Regions from separate parts of the Homo sapiens genome. Here all the other regions are linked to region 1. The links are contacts of gene promoters, found by promoter capture Hi-C in blood cells and fetal thymus (Javierre and others, 2016). All regions are on one chromosome and are shown on one strand. Each heading gives the region's core, a stretch centred on a gene start or on the middle of the fragment in contact. The rest is flanking DNA. Distances are from core to core; before and after follow the strand shown.

What was found. Contacts are between HindIII fragments. The CHiCAGO score rates a contact against its expected background, and 5 or more counts as called.
Region 2: a contact is called between a fragment that was not itself captured here and the fragment with the promoter of TLR6 in region 1, in 1 of 17 cell types (endothelial precursors). The highest score is 6.6, in endothelial precursors.
Region 3: a contact is called between a fragment that was not itself captured here and the fragment with the promoter of TLR6 in region 1, in 2 of 17 cell types (naive CD4 T cells and total CD4 T cells). The highest score is 6.1, in naive CD4 T cells.
Region 4: a contact is called between a fragment that was not itself captured here and the fragment with the promoter of TLR6 in region 1, in 1 of 17 cell types (naive CD8 T cells). The highest score is 5.1, in naive CD8 T cells.
Region 5: a contact is called between a fragment that was not itself captured here and the fragment with the promoter of TLR6 in region 1, in 1 of 17 cell types (monocytes). The highest score is 6.0, in monocytes.

The regions. Positions count from the first base shown.
Region 1 is chr4:38,855,402-38,858,222 of GRCh38, forward strand. It overlaps TLR6 (toll like receptor 6), which reads right to left and starts at 1,416. Exons shown (of 2, transcript NM_006068.5): 1 at 1,360-1,416. RefSeq lists an enhancer at 1,865-2,821. The HindIII fragment of the contact is 10,488 bases long and covers 887-2,821 here.
Region 2 is chr4:38,084,941-38,087,761 of GRCh38, forward strand. All of the region lies in intron 14 of TBC1D1 (TBC1 domain family member 1), which reads left to right. Among named protein-coding and RNA genes, the nearest start is that of PTTG2, 130 kb to the left of the region's middle. The HindIII fragment of the contact is 1,467 bases long and covers 684-2,150 here.
Region 3 is chr4:38,119,392-38,122,212 of GRCh38, forward strand. The region is part of intron 19 of TBC1D1 (TBC1 domain family member 1); the gene reads left to right. Among named protein-coding and RNA genes, the nearest start is that of PTTG2, 160 kb to the left of the region's middle. The HindIII fragment of the contact is 2,340 bases long and covers 222-2,561 here.
Region 4 is chr4:38,143,284-38,146,104 of GRCh38, forward strand. No RefSeq gene overlaps it. Among named protein-coding and RNA genes, the nearest start is that of PTTG2, 180 kb to the left of the region's middle. The HindIII fragment of the contact is 733 bases long and covers 1,048-1,780 here.
Region 5 is chr4:38,165,218-38,168,038 of GRCh38, forward strand. No RefSeq gene overlaps it. Among named protein-coding and RNA genes, the nearest start is that of LINC02513, 200 kb to the right of the region's middle. The HindIII fragment of the contact is 5,693 bases long and covers 1-2,821 here.

The sequences.
Region 1 (2,821 bases), core at 166-2,665:
CTAAAATGTCTCATTTTGAATGTCCTTTATAATCCAAAAAAGTTATCGTAAGGCAATTTAAGAGTTGTCTTTATAGCTGTGTGAAAATATTTTATATTTAAAGAAACGTGCTTGTTTTATTTGGAATATTAAAATATAAAGATGGAGAACTTTCAGATAATAGTAGATAACTGGCATTCACAGATGAGGACCTACCCTACAGGTCCCCGGCAACCAGACCCACGGTGTCTGGGTTCATGGGACTGAAAATCAGTCACCAGGTGGAAAAGCTGGTCAGCTGTCCTTATGGTATCCTGCCACAAAAACGCAATATTCCTCCAGAGGCGTTCATACCCTGAGGCAGTTCCTAGGGAATACACTAAATGAACAAGATAGTAACTTTTCTATTTATTGGGAAAAAAGGAGGGAAAAATGGGAAGATGAGAGTGGAAGATTAGAGAGTTCACAGTTTTTTAAAGAAAGTAAAAATAAACAGGTAAATGCTCTTGATTTTTTAAATGCATCAAATAAAAAGGGTGAGGAAATAGATGAAATAAGCTACATTTCAGAAAAAAAGGGTAGACAAGACCTATGAAAATTAAAACTACAAGGAAGAAGAGAGCAGAAAAAAAATTAAGTGAAATAAGTGGAGGAAAGATCACATAATCAAGTTAACAAATAGGCAAGAAAAACATTGTTTCATTTGTCAAACTGAAGGTGGAAGGACCTGGAGGAAGGCAATTGCTACACTGTGCCAGATTCAAGCTTGTGAAGGGGCTTGGTCCCGGCCACTTCCTCCATTTAATAAATGTTTATTCAGAGTCTATTTTTCTGCCAGTGCCATGCTACGCACTAGGCACCAGGGATATAAATATGAATAGGACTGACATAATTCCTGCTTTCAAAAAGCTTATGAATTAGGGACAGACACAGACCAGCAAACTGTTACAGTGACAAACGACAAGGGAGATCAAACACACGTCTGCTGTAAAAACATATAATAAATAGGTGCCATATCAGTGGTATATAAAAATTACTGTTAAATGTTACTGAAAACAATAAACTAGAGAAAGACGAAAAGAGAAAATTCGCTGGGCCAAATCAGAAGAAATAAATAACATTAGTTTTGTTCCTTAATTATCACCACAAGCGCTAGTTGTTTTCTATCTTTTCAAGACAGCTGTAAAGACGCTGCTCTTCATCCTGCTCGTGAAATTCAAAGGACATTTGCAACATCTACAAAAAAAACCACTTCAAATCATTTTGCAAAAATTTCAAGGAAACATTACCTATTTCCTATATAATGAATGGTTAGCAAACTTGCTTACTTGAAGCACCTGTGCCATAATGTGAAAAAGCCACAGAAGTCTTTCTACTTACCAAGATCTCTTTTTCAGAAGAAGAGAAAATAACTTGTAAATGAACGGAAATACAATTGAAAATGCTTGACAAACACAAGTTCTTAAAGTTGAGTAAAGCGGTACCTTAGAAACAGATTGGTGCCATCTGTTGGCCCACACTGGAATTACTCCTACGTATATTTTTACCTTTCAAAGGTCCGGAGGTGAGTTAGCAGTTTTTTCTGGGCTACAGACAAAACCAGTAATCCAATTTTCTAATTCGTGTGAGGAAGCAACTTACAAACAATTCAATGTGAAGAAAAATATTTTTCTAAGGTAATATTTCTCTGTAAGAGTTTGCAGCCTGGTTATTACATTTGTCACCTGAGTGGAAAGTTATTTTAAACAGCCTGTTTTCTATTATCACCATATTTAACATTTCAAGAATAATTGCAGTTTCCCTTATCAAGCAATTTTGAGCATTATTTTAGCTGGATGAGATAGTTTAAAATAAAATAAGTATAGTTCCACAATTTGGGTTTTTTTTTAAAAATCAACTTCTAAGGAAAGTTTACTGGTTGATACATATTTATGACTACATATTTAGCCATATGTACGAGCAATCATACCCACATTCTGATCAACATTTGGTGTTATTAAATGGTTTAGATTTTAATTTAGGAATAATAAATAACACTGAAATCCTGCAAGACTAATTTAAAAATCAATTTTCTAAAGACCATTTAGAAGAATTTCAGAATGACATCAACAAAGGCTGATTACCAGAAGTCTCTGGTTAAACAGAGACTTCTGGTGGACAGTAAACCCTTTTCCCCAGACTTCTTGCTTAACTGAGTTCTGCAAAGGACAGAAGGCATGAGTGAAACAATCATTCTATAATTTATCTCACTGTCTGGCACAATCTCATCTTTATTAAAAAAAAAACAACAACAAGTTAAGACCTTACAATTTGGCTAATGACAAAGTTGGACATCTCCGTAAGAATCACTTCTGCTTTCAGGAGGAAGAGAAAGGCTGGCTTCTTGTGATTCATCCTTACTCATCAAACATAACAGGAAGTCTCCTCAGGCCTGGGGAGGCTCAGTAAGGAGTGGATGGATCTCTGCTCCACTGGCAAAAGGAGACAGCCAGAAAGCAGCAGGTATCTGTGACCCTGGAAAACCAGATTTGTGAAACAAGCCAAGGGAAAGGGCTGGCTGTGGCTCTGAGGGAATTTCAAGTAACCGTGGACTAAAGTCTTAAGAAAACAGACAACTATCACTGCAGATCTGGGCACATTGACATGTCTCATTAGGAGATTGCATCACAACACCAATGTTCAGAAACAAGGAGACTATTCTTGTCGAGGCTGTCATAACTCAGAAACGTCTGTAAGGGGATGACAAAAACACAAAAATCAAGTAATAGCGAAGATGGCAATGACAGTTAAGCAAACAAAGAAACAGACAGTACTGGGCCGAACCTCCACTTGGCCACTTACT
Region 2 (2,821 bases), core at 167-2,666, 770 kb before region 1:
TGTCAGTGCTTTGTGAAAGTGCAAGAAAGAAGCCCTGTATTCTGCACTTGAGAGAGCCAGATACTGGGCAGATAGGAGGTGGTGTGCACGTTGCTTTTTGTCTTTCTCGATCATGGCATTGATTCTGTTCATAACAATGATGCAATGTCATCCTCTTCCCCACACATTTGTGTGCAGATAGAAAGAATGCAACAGCACAGAGTTGTTGGGGAATAATTTGGCATCTAAAATATCGACATACCAGCATAGATCATATTTATGACTCTGTTGGGAGTGTCACAGCAATGATTTAATAGGAGGCAGTTGTCTCCAAGGCCTCCTGAATTATGACTGGTTTTAAAATTCTTAGAACCCATTGGAGGCTATTGTTTCTGAAAGGCTACATAATTTAAGTGCTCCACATCCGTCATTATAGGAGATGTCAGAATAGTAAAATCTAATCCTGGACTAAGTTGTTATCGCAGCCCTTTGGTTTGGTGGCTTTGCCGACTTTATAAATATGCCTGTCAGTGCCTGTGGTCTCTACAGTTGGGCAGTCGGCGGTGAATATCATTTCTCACATTTTACACTGGGGGACTGGAACCCAGAAGGCATATGTTTTCCCAAGAGGCACCAACACAGTTGGCCCATGAGGTAGAGCAGCCCCTCCTTCGGCTCAGCCTCCGCTGCACTGAGCCAAGCCAAGCTTCCTACACTGGCCTCTGTGCAGCTGTCTCTCAGCAAGAATGCAAGTCGGGGAGAGAAGCCGGATCCCTGGGATTGTTCTAGAGAGTAGAAACCTCAGAGTAGCCCTCCTTAGACCACCTAACGCATTGCATCGCTGCATACATGTAAGGGACTCAATGCTGGTAGGATTGGCTTAGGAATGATGCAAGTGAAAACAGTGCCCCGGTTTATCATTAGAACAAGGTTCTTAGCTGACAGTTGCCTCAGACTTTGATTTTGTTCTCCTTGACCTGCCACTCCACTCGAGTCCACATCTCTCAAGACTGCACACGCCTGAAGGAGGACTGATTACAAACCAAAGCCTTGTGCCCAGTCTGGATCTTTTTGCATTGTTGAGAAAGCAGCTTACTTTCTTTGGACTGATTCAGCAGGCCAAATTTAGAACAAAGATTTTTAACTATCTCCCTTTATAAATTACTGAGCTATTTTGTAGCCAGGCTACTCTTAATATGAACAAAAAATATTATACAAATTTGTTGTTAATCGTAAACTATAAAAAAATCAGTAATTGTTACCACGTGAAATGAATTTGGATAAAAGAGATACGTTTTTGCCCCTTCCCAGGGTTTAGGAGAGACGAAATGGTGAGATTTTAGCTCTGAATCAGAGGTTCTTATTAGAGGTGGTTTTGTTCCTCCTGACCCCTAGGGGATATTTAGCAATGCCTAGAGGCATTGATGGTGGGCAGATGCTACTATGCCCTCTGCTAAACATTCTACAGTGTATAAAACTGTTCCTCCTGACAAAGAATCATCCAGCCCCAAAATGTCAGTAGTGCTGAGGTTGAGAAACCCTCCTTTAAACTCTTGGGTTTATTTGCTGACCTTTACAGTGGATCAGCTTTTATTTAGTTCATGTAGAGGTGAAATTAATACTAGTGCTCAAATATGTCTTTGTATTCTGGACTTGGCCTGGATCCCCCGACCAAATTTGGGACAAGCTCCTGCCATGTGTTGAGGACCTGAATTCAGGCAGCTAACAACAGTATTTGAACTGTGTTTTCAGTGGTGGGAGTGAAGGAGATGAGCCGACGTGCTAGCAAGCGCATAGGGTTGCATGAGGAAATAGAGAGTAAAGCTGCAGCGTGGAGCCCTGCTATTCAGAGTGTGCTTGGAGAAACAGCAGTGGAGGCATTACTGGGGAGCTTGATGGAAATGCTCCCCTCAGACTTGCTGAATCAAAATCTTTAATTTAGCAAGATCCCCAGTGAGGCTTGTGCATGTAGAAGTTAGAGAAGCACGGGGTAAACTCTTCTTTTTTTTACTTTGGAGGAAAATACACCTTTTTTCTTATTATGGCTCTGACCCTTACTAGCTGTGTGACCTTGGCCAAGTTATAAAACCTCACTGCACCTTATTTGTTTTAGCTGGAAAATGGAGATCATAATATCACCTGTCCTATGAGATTGTTGTAAGAATCAAACAAGCTTATTTATGCCAAGAACCCATATGGTAAAAGCTCAACAAACTGTCACTAGTGATAATAAGAAAAAGATCACAAAAGTAGAAAACATTAGGGAGACAGCTTAGGTCTTAAATCTCACAGTTGTCGTCCCCAAACAATACTTGTATTTTTGCAGATCCAGTTTCTCTGAATACTAAAATAAAACCGGAGTTTCATAAACTTCTATAGACAGTGGTCCTTGTCAGTAGCCCAAGTGGCAGAGAGTACATGGATCTGGGGACAAACAGCCTCTACTGTTAGGAATGTTCCATCCTCCTGGCCTGAGTTACACCTGCTCATTGTGATTCCGAATTTGAAAGGAACACAGTAGGAATTTTCAAGACCCTGGGAAGAGGAAGGCTGTGGTAAACAGGAAGGATGAGATTAGAAGAAGGAGTTTAGGTGAGGTGAGCCCTTGTTTTACTAGTAGGGTTTAAGAATATCCAAGTCAGCTGGACATGGTGGCTCACACCTGTAATTCTAGCACTTTGGGAGGCCGAGGTGGGCAGATCACCTGAGGTCAGGAGTTCGAGACCAGTCTGGCCAACATGGTGAAACCCCGTCTCAACTGAAAATACAGAAATTAGCAGGGCATGGTGGCGCATGCCTGTAATTCCAACTACTCACTCGGGAGTCTGAGGCAGGAGAATCG
Region 3 (2,821 bases), core at 142-2,641, 740 kb before region 1:
AGAATTCATATTCCTTCTTTTCTGTCCCTGAAAAAATAAAATCACTAAATTAAAATAGATACAAAAAGCTATCTCCTGGTTGAGCATATCTTTAGTGAGAGTTCATGAAGGTTTATACCATGGTTAAAAAAAAAAAAAGATTAACTAAAAGCCTCAAAATTGTGTGCTTAGTTTATTAACAAAAGAGTTACAGAAACTAAAATCTCAAGCTCTAGGCTTTAAGCTTTCTTGCCAATAACTTCTATGTTTTTGACTTCTCTAACACTGGAAATTAAAAGAAAATTATTAATCTACCTTCCTTACATTTTCTCCACATTTTAGCTATGATTTTCATACAGGGTCATGAAGAGGAGTGAGGATGGAAATGGGGAGGAGGGAGCGCTGTTTGTTAATGGTTTGTAAACAGCTCAGGCATTAAATTACTTGGTTAGTGAAGAAAATTCTACCAAGGCAACCAGGCTGACCACAGACTGGAGGGCTGAGGGGTCATCACTGAGTCATCTCTGCCCTGGGGCCCCAGGCACTGGAGCTGCTGCTTGCAGAAAGTTCTGGGGCTCTGGAAGAGAAATTTTTCCTTCGGCTCATAAATGGGTAAAAAGACGTTAACAAACAAGCAGACTCCACTTTGGAAATGATAGCCCTTCTATTGCAGAGTAATTTGAAGCTCTCTGAAGCTCACTCTAATGACTTCATAAATCAAAGCTGCAGCTTGTAAAGGTAAGATATTTTTCTGTAGACTTTGTAGGCAGTGGTGAGACTCGGAGTTTCATAAACATTATGCATAGAGATGCCAGTGTCTACATCATTCCTGGATCCCACAGACTCCTGCTGTGCTAAGTGGGTCGTTGTCCAGCTGGCCAAGGGCTCCTGGGATTAGAGGCGGGAAGTGGGATCTCAAGGCCGCACTGGCTTGTGATGTCACTTTGCAAGAACTGCTTTTTTTTCCACAGTCCATCCCATCTTTCAGTACTTAAAAACAGAAAAGATAGGTTTTTACAAACCATTTCTATTTTTAGCACTGATGACTTAGAGAATGGTGATGGAGATAGCTTAGTTTTATATTTCAAAGCCTGCCATTCAGTCACTATAGTCTTTTTTGGCCTAGGGCCCATTTCATTATAAGCCTTTAAGTCTGGATAAACTCTAAAAACATGTAGAACTTTGTTGACTAAGTAAAATATTTCAGTTTGCACCACCTTAGCTCATATATTAGTTAATAGGTTACCTGGCATTAAGTATGTATCTGCTCCTTGGAGGGGCGGCTGCCAGTGATGTGTGCGCCTTAACCTTCACATGATACTCACACCTTGCTGAATGGCAGTTCTTCTACCTGGTGTCACATAATGTCAATAGCCCCTTCCTGTATTTTTCTAGCTTGAGTACAGCAGGGCCCTGGGAGAGACGCTTGCTCTGTTCACTTTCTCATCACATCTACCTTTGGGGGAAGAAAAATCTAAAAAACAGGACCTGGCTTGCTCCTGATGGAGGAGGAGGCTGCAGTGTTCAGCCTCTGATGTTTTTCTATAGGACATGCTGCCAAATAGATGAGGGAGGAGGAGGAGTATAAAAACTAAGGGTTTGGCAAAAAACACAGAAGCCACCTGCAATATAGTGAAGGCTTCAGAGAGACTTTAGGATGAAAATAGACTGAAAACAAGATTGTTTCTGTGGCCAGGAAAATCTCCAGCTATTCAGGTGACATGATGCCGCGTGATGATGAGTGTGTCCAGTCTGTCTGTGCTGTTGTTCTGCACAGCACTGTCATCAGCCTTCAGCGTCCCCTTTACCCGTTACTCATAGAATGTAGCGGAGCCACGACTGGAGGACCGCAGCCTTCCAGAAGAAAGTTGAGAAGGCTCAGCCTTGACAAAGACAAAGGTGGCTGGAAAAAGAGATGCAGTGCAAGCTCACATAGGAAGATTGCACTTTGAGATCATGAAGTTTAGTTTCAAATAGAGTTCCAATACACAGTAACGCAATAAGAGGGTTGCTGAAATGTCCTCAAAGAAAAGCAGTTCCTTTGTGTTGTTCCCAGCGAATACAGTGCAAAGTAATAGAGTCAGCTGAATTTAAGATTCCTATTTCCTGCCGGATAAAACGTCTTGCCTGTTTCTAGGTGGCTTGAAAAAGGAGAGGAGAGAAGGAAGAGGCAGGAGAAAAGTCCCACTGAAAGGACGTGGGCTACAGTGTAGTGAGCTAGGCTACTGCCTCACTGCGCTGGGCGGCTCCAACAGTTCACTGTCTCCTAGGGAGGTTTTCAAATGCAGGACATTTGCTCACTTTTCCAAGGAGAGTTATTGTTTTTTTGTTTTGTTTTGTTTTGTTTTGTTTTAAAAAATTCCAGAATGTAAATGTATAAGATACCGGAAGACAGGCAAAATAAAAATAATTGGTTTGGGGCAGTGGGTTTATAGGTAACATTTTTCTTTACTATTGTTTTAAAATTAGATGTGATTTAAAAAAATTTCCAAAGCCAAAAAACGGTACAAATGCTTTAAAGGATGAAGATGTTGTCCCCAAGTGTCATCAGACAAATTTAGGAGGCCCTTCCTCCCAAGCAAAGCTTCCTGCAGTCCTTCCTTCAACTCTGAATTCAAGCACATTCCTGCATTGTGCACCCAAATGATCTCCCGATTTAAGACCCCCTGTGTCTCACAGAAGCTTCTGGGGCTGAACTTTCTCCGGCCTTGGAGGGTTGGACGCTTTGAATGGGAGGAGTGGTGGTGAGTGGAGCATCTCTGGCAGCAGGCATTTGGGAGTCTCTGGCAGGAATCAATCAGCGTAGTCTCCAAAGGTGGCCTTTCTCTGACACTAACTAGCC
Region 4 (2,821 bases), core at 164-2,663, 710 kb before region 1:
CTCTTCCAAATGACAAATGATTCTATCCTAGCTTTGAGTCTTGTGCCAAGACCTTAAAAAAAACACACACCCACTGCTGTGGTCTGAATGTTGATGTTGCCCCATCCCCCCTCCATTCATGTGTTCAAATATAATATCCAATGTGATAGAATTAAGAGGCAAAGCATTTGGGAAATGATTAAGTCATGAGGGCTCTACGCTCATGAATGGGATCAGTGCACTTAGAAGCTGGAGATGTGAAGACACAGCAAGAAGGCGCCGTCCGTCTATGAGGAACAGTCCCTCACCAGACGCCACATCTGCTGGTGCCTTGATTTTGGACTTCCCAGCTTCTAGAACTGTTGTTTATAAATTATCCAGTCTGAGTAGCCCAAACAAACTAACCCACTTAGCACCCACTTAACACCATGTCTCTTTCAGATGGCAAGAAAACACCAATATTTTTAGAGATAAATGTTCCATTACTGTGTAGTCCAATAAGTATAAATAAGTTCTTGGCTTGATCCACTTACAGTTTTAATGGACACAAGGGAATCTGCTATTCTTAACTTAGCATTAAACTGCGAGGAGGAATGAGTTGGTGAAATGGACATTGTAGTGGGCACCTGGCAGGGGGTGACCTTGTTATCTCAGTTTATGATGATGTCCCCTACAGATCTGACAGCCAGTGGACACAGCCCTATCAACTTCCTGCTGTGATCATCTGCAAAGGGAACCTAGGCATCGGGAAGACATTCGTTAAAGTTCAGGAAAAAATTAGGTGTGATTTCATGGCATGACAGCCTAAAAGAGACTTTTGTGAAATTCTACAAAAGTAAATCCTGACTGTTCAAATTGCATTCCAGGGTACTGAGAAAATTTGAGCAAAAAAAAATTGCTCAACTGCTATTAGTATTTTTTTGGAATGAGTTGACAATGGTGGAAAGAGGCACTGGAAATGGGAAGACAGAGATCTTTGAAGAAATATAGAGCTAGCCAAACTTCCCACTTTATTTAATGAGGTAGGAAGTGGATGATGTAAGTTATGGTTCGTTGAGCCCAGTGAAAAGCTTGTCTGCATGGATCATGAGGATATTCTTGCAGTCCTCCCTTTAATTCTCAGTGCCTTCTCTAAGAAAGCCCCAGAACTGTTCAGGTATTTCTCCCAAATAATGTTTGTTTTTAATCCGATGTCAACTGTGTAATTGAACAGGTGACCCTATTTTAATTTGACATTTCCGGAACACTCAAAACCAAATTGGTGGCCCTCCCATTAGCAAATGTGCAGGCATTTGGTTCTGACTCATTTTGACCCTCTCCGATTCTACTTTATTCCAGTTATTTCATGCTTTCTTAAATCTTTAATATCCTTGTAAATCACTGTAAAACATTTGAGGAACAAGATGGAGCCAGGTAAATATAAATAGAAGCGACATCTCATGGCTAAAAGCGCAGGCCCTGGAGTCAGCTGGAATCCGACCCTGATTTCTTGTCTGTATAATGGAAATAACAGCTATTTCATAGGATTATTGTGCAAATATTTATGACAAGCACTGAGTACTGTGGTGGACACCAAATTAACAAGCAATAAATGTTATCATTACTTATGATGACGTGAACTAAATCAGTTATGTGAGCTTGAGATTGGACCCAGGCAAAATTCCTCAACAGTGCAAACATATAAGATAGGTGATTCCTTAAGATCATGTCATGCTAGCCCAATGTAATTTTATGTTTCTGAAAGCACAGTGACCAAATGGAAGATGGGAAGCTGTAGGAAAATATACCTTGATGTCAGCAAAGCTTTTGACATCTCTCACAATACCTTAAATAAAGTCTTATTAAAACTTAAATGAGTTAAAGTGACATGAGCAGTAGGAGAGTTCGATTGTGTTGATTTAATAAAACCAGAAAGACTTCTAGGTTGTGGTTCTCAGCCCTGGTTGCACAATAGAATCACCCAGAGAGATTTTTCAAAGTACCAGGGCCCAAGGGTGCTCCAGGCTAACACACTCATGCACTCTGGGGTAGGGCCTGGGCGGTTTTTAGTTTTTAAGCTCCCCAGTGAATTTAAAGTTTAGCTAGGATTGAAAAATGCTGTGATGGATAATGGATTGTGGTGAGCCTAAAAAGGAGGAGTCTCACTGAGGGTTTTTCCTTAGCCAGCCGGTGCACATGTGTGTCATGTGATCTGTATGAGGCCCTAGGGACCATGCTCTTGGATGCACGGATGCCACTGACTAAATGCAATGAATGACAGACAGGACCTTGATTGATGTTGACAAGCTGGCCAGATGACCTGATTCAAGCAAGATGCACTTTTGAATGTCAGGTTCTAAATGTGTGTATAGGGCAGTGGGTCTCAGGGTATAGGCCCTAGACCAATAGCCTCAGCATCTTCTGAAACTTGTTAGAATTGTATTAATGGGATCTACCAACCTACTAATTCAAAAATTCTGGAGGGTGGGGTCAGCAATCTTTTTTCACAAGCCTTCCATGGGATTCTGATGTGTGCTAAAGTTTAAGAACCACTCACATAGAAGGGGGAATCCCACTGGACAAGTACAGAATCAGAGACATCTCATTAGCAACAGCAGTGACTGAAGACAGAGTCTGTTTATTCTTGATCTATAGTTCTGTTTTATTCTCGCTTTCCCATTGCGATGAAGACCTCATACTTGGCAGATCACGTCACTTGCTTATCTCTGTGTTCTACAGTCATTGTATAAAACTGTTTACTGAAAATCTGAGTAATTCCAGAGACTGTTACATAGTGAGAAATGTTGAGTTTAGAGCATAATGACACAGAAATAGCTGAGAAGAACAGCAGTTGCCATATGCC
Region 5 (2,821 bases), core at 181-2,680, 690 kb before region 1:
CTTATTTTTATTTATCTATTTTTATAAATTGACAAATGATAATGAATACAGTTTTTCTACTCAGGCCTTTTGCAGTGCATTCTACTGCCTTCTAGCAACACTGCTAGAAATAGGGCGAGTGAGTTATTTACCGTCAGGCCTGAGAGATGCTGTGTGGTTTTCTCCTGGCTGTTCCCAATGCTTCTCTTCCCTGGTAATATGAACAATGGCTGTGAGTCTGGTACTGTGCTAAATGCTTTCCATGAAATAATTTACTCAATCCTTACCTTTTGAGTAGATAGTTGTATTATCTCCACTTTACAATGAACAAACTGAGGCACAGAAAGTGTAAGCAACCCACCTAAGTAAGTGTGAGGGCTGGGATGTGGACACGGGAAGGCTGGTCCCATAACTGACTTTCCCGGTCACCATGCTCTGTTCTTCTTGTCTTGCTTCTTCTGCTCCCTTCCTCTCTTGCAGATCCCTTCAACTCCCCTCCATCATGAATAGGCCAATAGGGGCACCCAATGGCTATAAATAAAAAGAGGTTCCTGCCTCTCTCTGTCAATTGTTCCACATTTATGTCTATTTGGTGTCTTCATGGGATATTAAGGACTCTGGCATTTGATGAATGTCCTTCGGTACCAATCAGTCCAGCATCTCTTTGGGCACACTGGGCACACTGGAGAGAGCCCTGGACTGGGAGCCAGTAGTCTAGTTTCCAGATCTGGCTCTGCCACAGGTGTGCATGTGTCCTTGACCATGGTACTCCCATCTGTCAGTGCAGGGATGGATGATGACCTCTAGGATTCCTCATAGCCCTAAAGTCTGTGATATAATTCTTTCCTTCCTCAGCCTGGTATCTGTCCTTTGGCACTGCTGGCCTGCCTTTCCCCAGGAAGCCCATGGGCAGGAATCAGCTCCCTCTTTAGAGCCTGAGAGGAGCATTATGTGGTCTTGCCGATTTTGACAGGCAAAAGGAGAAGGTGAGGAAAGTCAGGCTCTCTGGTCTCCTAGTTGGTGCTGCCATCCGCAGGCTTAAATGTCTCCCTGAAATGCAGATGGAAATGAAGCAAGGTGAAAGGGTAAGCGTAGGAGCAGAGCAACTTCTAGGCTTAAAGAGGAACTTGAACCCAACTGACTCACGAGGGAAGTGGTTGTTGACCTCGAATCCTAGTTGACTTGCAAGTTGGTAGCTTGTCTTTTGAGAGACTTAGATGAATTTAGTTCCCGTGCCCATGAACTTCTGTCATTCATGGCAAAAAGAGGTAGCCTCCAAAAGAGCGATTGAACAAGAAGAATTTGGGGATGCATGAATGAATAAATGAAGGATATGGCAATTCTTTTTCTGTGAATGCCTTGGGCAATCAGACAGAAAAGATACTTAGCTCTCCAGGATGGCTTAGATGGATCTCCTCAACGCCACTCCCTGTTGAACTGATTGCGCCTGAAACACGCCAGAGTACAGGGGTCTTTGGGAAGCCTTTAATCCTGGCTGTCTGCTAAACTCAAACTTTCCCTCCTTCCTGATTTTACCATAGTCTTCCTTCTATAAATTACTTGCACATGGTAGATACAGTTTCAGTTCTGGGCTAACAAAATGGCAGCCAGAAACCATTCAGTCATAAGATGAGCAGTGACAGAAAAAAACAGGGAAGAGATAAAACCTTAAGCTGTAAGCAGGGTGGGCCTCTGCCAAATAAAGATGTTTATTGCTCTTCTGCTTTCTCAACAAAATTATAAGATTGAACGCCTTGATTTATGTGGCTCAGCAGATGTTCTCAAATCTATTAGCTCCTTGCCTCCTCCGTTGAGTGGGTGGTGCAAAAATAAAATCTGCAAGGAAGAAGCTGGCAGTGACAGGAAAGGAAGTGAGGGGCCTCTGAGAGATTAGGAGCTGAGACATGACCCAGAAATAAAAGAAAAGGAGAATCTGAAGGAACAAGTCTTCACGGTTCCTGTTCAATGAACTTTTCTCTAACAAGAGACAAAATTTGCACAGCCACAAATTATTGCAATTCAGAGAGCCAAGTGTATTGAGTTGAAAACATATTTTATGTAGGGAGGTGTCTTACATTGAGGTTGTCATAACAAAATCTCATAGACTGGGTAGCTCACGGACAACAGAAATTTATTTCTTACACTTCTGGAGGCTGGGGAGTCCAAGATCAAGGCTGGCAGATTTGAGGTCTGGCTTCTTGGTTCATAGATGGCCTCTTCTTTCTGTGTCCTCACGTGATAGAAAGGGTGAGGACCTCTCTGGGATCTCTTTCATAAGAACACTAACCCCATTCATGAGGACTCTACTGTCATGATCTAATCACCACCCAAAAGCCCCACCTCCTAAGACCATCACCTTGGGGGTTAGGATTCCAACACATGAATCTGGGGGGAACACAGGCACTTAAACCGTAGCAAGAGGCATTAACAGTATTGATGGCCCAAATCTCTCACCCAAAGAAAGTTGTCCAATACATTTGAGAAAATTTTAATGACATGGGTCCCTCGATGCCACCACCTTCTCTCATTTTTCTCTTTCCCCTTCCATATTGGCCGCATGTCTATCACCCCTTCAATTCAGGCTGGCCATCCAGAACCTTCCCCACTAGATAATATCTCTACCTCAAATTAAAAACAGTCTCCTTCCTACTTGTTCAGAGCCCTGGTGTCAGGATGGTTGCGGAAGATTGTTAAACTGGCAGCACGACGTGGAGATTTCCTGGGGATTTCAATCACCCAGTTCCCCCTACCCTTCCTGACAGAGGTTAATCACGAGGGGAATGAAAACAACACACAATCTTATGAGCAACGAAGGATAGGTTGGATGGAACCCACAGAGGCC